Regions from separate parts of the Homo sapiens genome. Here region 1 is linked to region 2. The links are contacts of gene promoters, found by promoter capture Hi-C in blood cells and fetal thymus (Javierre and others, 2016). All regions are on one chromosome and are shown on one strand. Each heading gives the region's core, a stretch centred on a gene start or on the middle of the fragment in contact. The rest is flanking DNA. Distances are from core to core; before and after follow the strand shown. Region 1 overlaps CHD2 (chromodomain helicase DNA binding protein 2). Region 2 holds the start of CHASERR (CHD2 adjacent suppressive regulatory RNA).

The links. The method cuts DNA at HindIII sites, captures the fragments that hold promoters and counts their contacts. A CHiCAGO score of 5 or more calls a contact.
Region 1: a contact is called between a fragment that was not itself captured here and the fragment with the promoter of CHASERR in region 2, in 3 of 17 cell types (total B cells, neutrophils and non-activated CD4 T cells). The highest score is 7.5, in total B cells.

The regions. Positions count from the first base shown.
Region 1 is chr15:93,022,179-93,024,878 of GRCh38, reverse strand. It overlaps CHD2 (chromodomain helicase DNA binding protein 2), which reads right to left. Exons shown (of 39, transcript NM_001271.4): 39 at 1-507. The coding sequence ends at 174. Among named protein-coding and RNA genes, the nearest start is that of RGMA, 66 kb to the left of the region's middle. The HindIII fragment of the contact is 5,768 bases long and covers 1-2,700 here.
Region 2 is chr15:92,881,593-92,884,292 of GRCh38, reverse strand. It overlaps CHASERR (CHD2 adjacent suppressive regulatory RNA), which reads right to left and starts at 1,450. Exons shown (of 6, transcript NR_037601.1): 1 at 1,107-1,450; 2 at 515-708. RefSeq lists silencers at 724-973, 1,594-1,723 and enhancers at 967-1,608, 2,034-2,123. The HindIII fragment of the contact is 7,161 bases long and covers 1-2,700 here.

The sequences.
Region 1 (2,700 bases), core at 37-2,536, 140 kb before region 2:
CTGGACCCAGTGAAAGGCCTCCCATTCCTTGAAGTGCTCCTTCAGCCAGTGAGTTGACAGCAGCAGCATGTCCAAAACTCCACTTACTGGTCTAGATAACCGGCTACTGTAGGATCAGACCAAAAATATCCACGTGTTTGGTGACTCTTACTCTCTCCTTTACGAGCTGTCCTTTATGTTTTCCGAACATTCCAGTTATAATCTGGGTTGTTTTTCTGTTCTAGTGATCTCTCCAAAGGAGACCTATGATCCAGGGGTGACTTGGAATCGTGAGGAGATTTCTGAGAAGGGGGTGAGCGAGGATCTGAGACTGCAGGGTGCAATGGGGGTAGAGGCTGTTTATATTCCCCCAGTTTATCTGTGTGGAAAGAGCGGTAATGGTCTGAGGGTCCCTGGCCATGGTAGCCCATAGCGGGGCGGTGATCAGACATTCGTCGGAAATCCTGCTGGTGGTAATTTTGAGGCCTAAATTCATCGGATCTCCTCCGCTTGGAGTCATGATGGTGCCTGAAATAGAGATGCAAGGATTAGTCGAAAGACTGAAGCCAGATTCCCATCCACTTCTCTTCACTACCCACTTGGCTCTTCCTCATATACTCATATTCAAGGACAAATGCTCACATTATTAGGAATCAAAAAAATTAATAACAGAGTCATTTTACACTTATTAGCAAAATACATCCTATGAAATAAGGCTCAAGTGTGCAGTGACACAAGTACACACTTGAAAAATTACTGATGGCTTTTGCAAACTCACTCCCTTTAGGAAAAATCTGGTAAGATCCATAAACATTACCATATTCCTGGACCCAGCCCATGAGAAAAAGAGCCACAGAAATTATTTTGTAAGTTATTAATAACACCATCAACCTAAATATGCAACAAGTGAGTGACTAGTTAATAAAATTATCTTAAAAACCAACTCAGTGTGAAGAGTATTAAAATTTTTAGCTTGGACCATGGTAAACTGCTCATGATACCATTAAAAAAAGAATTACTAAAACTCAACAACAAAAACAACCCAACTCAAAAACAGGCAAAGGATTTGAACAGACATTTCTCCAAAGAAGCTATACAAATGGCCAAAAAAAACCATGAGAAGATGCTCCATGTCATTAATCACTAGGGAAATGCATGTTCAAGCCACAATGAGACTACTTCACACCCACGAAGATGGAGATACTCATTAAAAAAAAACACAAAAAAAAAACCCAGGAAATAAGTGTTGGCAAAGATAAGGAAAACCTTCAACTCTTACACATTGCTGGTAGGAATGTAAAATGGTTCAGCCATCGTAGAAACATTTTGGTGTTTCCTAAAAACGTAAAGAATATGACTAATAATTCCACTCCCAGGCACATATCCAAAACTGAAAACAGGTAGTCAAGTACCTGTACACCAATCTTCACTGCAGCATTATTCACAACAGCCCAAAGATGGAAACAACTCAAATGTCCATCAACAGATGAATGGATAAACAAAATGTGGTATATATCCACACAACGAAATATTATTCAGCCATAAGGATGGAATGAGTACTGATGAATGAACCTTGAAAACATTATGCTAAGTGAAAGAAGCCAGACACAAAAGGTCACATATTGTATGACTCTTTCTATATGAAATGTCTAGAACAGGCAAATCCAGAGAGACAGAATGCAAACTGGTGGCTGCCAGAGGCTGGGGAGAGGGAATAATGGGGAAGGATTATTTAATGGTTATAGGGTTTTCTCTGACTGATGAAAGTGTTTTGGAACTAGATAGAAGTGGTGGCTGCCCAATATTATAAATGCACTAAGGTCATTCAGTTGTTCGCTTTAAAATAGTTCCTTTATGTAATATGAATTTCACCTCAATGAAAGAAAGAGGGAGGAAGAAGTGAGCAATCTCAAGTTCCAGTCAAAATGGAATAACAGGGACTAGATTTACCATCCTGCCTGAAACAGCCAAAAGGGACAAAATGCATAGAACAGTGGTTTTCAAGACACCAGACATCAGGCAATGAAGAACAGTGATCCCTGAGGAATGGACACTAATGAAATGAGCCTTTTAACGGCTCCTGTTCACTATCATGAGATAGTCCCTCAGGCTGTGACACAGGAAGAAGGAAACCCAGAAAGACACCAGTTGGCTTCCCAAGGTGAGGGATGGGGAACCAAGGTGGCCAGAGTTCACAGGGCATGGCATGAGAGAAGACAGTGCTGCAGAGAAAGAAGTTTGAAGATCTACAGAGGGTTCCCAGGTATACAGCTGAATACTGCTTAGGATGTGCATGTGGGGAAACTACCCAAGGCCAGGGAAAGGACCACCCGAAAAGACTGAAGGTAACAGTGCCCTGTGCTCACAAAGAACTGGCATCGTGCCTGTTCTCACCAGCCACACCAAAGACCTCCAGATGGTGATACGGTTTGGGTATGTGTCCCCTCCAAATCTCATGTTGAAATGTGACCTCCAATGTTGTAGTGGGAGGTGTTTGGGCAGATCCCTCATAAATGGCTTGGTGCTGTCCTTGTGATAATGAGTGAGTTCTCTGAGTTCACGTGAGAGCTGGTGCTTTAAAAGAGGCTGGCACCTCCTCCTCTCTCTCTTGCTCCCTCTCTTGCCATGGGACGCCTACTGCCACTTCACCTTCCACCATGAGTAAAAGCTCCCTGAGGCCTCTCCAGAAGCCAACCAGATGCTGGTGCTATGCTTGTACAG
Region 2 (2,700 bases), core at 201-2,700:
TATGGCTCCTCTTCATCGCCCATTACCGAGAGCAGTCCTACTTTATTCATATTTACATTACGAGAAAGTAACTTCAGGAAGAGATTTGGTGTCAGAATGTTCTTTTGTGAAAGTTTTTCGATCATGGCTTGTGATAATATAAATTCTTAAAAATAATTAAATTATGAACTTTTAAAGACTAGGAATTGACCCAAGTACGTTCTAACATTCAGGTGTGAGAAGTTGCAGATAACGGCTCCTTGAGACCTTTTTAAAAAGTACCAAACAGTGTATTTAATCATATTTAAATATCAGGAGATCAAATGATCTTGGCGTCATTACTCGGTAAAATAAACTACATTAACCAAACGTCATCAGCTAGCTAGCACCGTAATTATCAAATCTATTTCCATTAAACAGCCTTGACGACACAGTAAACTTGTCTTCGTAATTCTGAAATACCAGAAGCACTCCTCCAACTTGCATTTTTCAAAGACAACCTTAACGTCATAAAGGTTTAATAAGCAGCAAGTACCTTCGCATGTATCACTGCAGCCGTTTCAAAATCGGCTTTGAAAGAGTTAAAAGCCAACACCCAATAGGAGGGAAAAAAACAAGTTTTATTTTTGTTGAAACGTAGTCAGGGTTCCATTGTTCTTTTAAATTCGATCATGAAGATGAGTTCCCACCTCACCGGAAAGAGGTTAAAAAGCTCCTCCGTTGGAGAACCTGAAAGGGATTTTTTTACCCTAAATATCAAAATAACTCACCAGGACAGAAAGGGGCTCTCCACGCCCGATCCCCTTCGGGCTCTCGCCGGCATTCACCCGCCGCCCCTTTCCCGGCGGATCCAGTCCCGGCGACGAGGCTGCCCCCCGCCCACCTGCCGCCCGCGGGCTCTGCAGCGGGGCCCCGCGTGCCCCCTACCCCAGGACCCTACGACTCGGGCCCAGGGCACCGAGGCGCATCCCGCCGGCGAGAGCCGGCCCCCGACCACGGAGGGGCAGTGCGAGAAGAGCCGAGCGGCGAGGCCCGGCCCGCCGCCCCCTCCTGCTCGCGCGCTCAAGGACATTTTGCTTTTCCTCCCAAGGACAAAGGACAATAAAAGGAGCTAGGGAGCCACTCACCGGGTCCGAGCGCGGCCACCGGCACCTCCTGGTCGCCCAAACCCGAGTCCCGGGCCGGACCGCCCGCCCGAGCCTCCCGCCCGCGCCGGGTCCAGCCGCCGGGGCCCGGGGGAGCCTCCGAGGCGGCAACCGCAGCGGCGCTTTCGGCGTCGTGGGCCCGGCCGCCCTGGGCGCCTCTGCCGCGGGCTGTGACGCCGACGCGCGCGGCCCGCCTCGCCTCAGCCGCGGCAGCCCCACTCCCGCGGGCCTGCTGGCCGTCCGGGCGTAGCTCCCCGCCGGCCGGCGGGCCTCGCGGCCGCGGCGGAACGCCTGACAGCTCGGGGTGCTGCTGCCTCTCCGGCCATCTTGTGCCGTGTGTGTGGTGTCTCTCTCCCGTCTCCTCTCTAGGCTTTACTCCCTCCTCCTCCTCCCCCCGCCCCACACACCACACAACATGGCCTCTTCGCTGCGGCGGCAGCGGCTGCGGCGGCGGCAGGAGCTCCGCCGCGCTCCAGCCCGCTCCCCTCCCCCACCATCCCCGCCTCCCGCCCGCAGGCCCGGGGGCCAACGCGCACGCGCGCCGCCGCCCGCCCGCCGCGGCCATTGGCTCCACGAGCTTCCTGCATCCCCTATCCGGGAGCGGCCTCACGCACGTTAGCTGGCGTCTTCCTCCCTCCCAACAACAACTTCTTCCATTCTATTGGTTAATTTCAACACCACCCCTTCCGCCTCCTTCGTGCGGATAGGCTGGCCTTAGTGCCATTCACTGTCCGTAGGCGTTTCTGGTTTTCTTGAGAAGCCCCGGGCCACGATTGGCTGGTGATGGAACCTTTGGGGTTGGAGCTGAGCTGTTGCTTTTTTCCCCGCAGTGCGGACCCCTCCAGGCTAGCTGGAGGGTTCCTGGTATGGTCTAGGCCAGGCTAGAATGGTTAGTGCAGGGTCGCACAAATAGTGGATTCGCGTCTAGAAAAAGCTCTGGCTTCGGTGTTTCTAGGTTCAGATTTTGTCTTTAAAAAAAGGGAAAGAAAAAAATGACTGACAGGATGATGAGCAAACAAGATACAGGCCCACAGCCCTTGGGCAAGCAGCCATATCCTCAAAATATTTGTTCTAAGCACCCAGGCCTTCCATGAAGGTCACACAGTCAGGACCAATGGTTTTACCATCAGCACATTCCCTAGCCCCAGTATCCGAGTTGAGATGCGATTTATTTGTGGATTTGTAGACTGCCTGTTGCGCATTTACCTGAGAGCCTAAAAGAATGTCTAGTGTCTTGTGAGCTGTCGTCATGGAAATCAAAAAAAACAATTAAAAAGAATGTCCAGTGTCCTGAGGCCTTAGCGAATCAATCTCAATACCGGTTGACTGGATTCCACCCTGTAGGACAATGTTTGTTAGAGTAGCAGTTTGAACCTGAAAAATCATAGTCTACCTTTTCAACCTCCTTCCAGAGAACCAGGCAAAACAAGTTTCATTTGCTTTCGGCAAATCTCACTTTTTTTTCGTTACTTCTTCCTACTTTAACGTGGAAACAACTCTAAGAAGACCATAGGAAAAAAATGAAAACCTAAACTTTCCTGAAATGGATGGGGAAAAAAAAAAGAGGTAGCTCTCT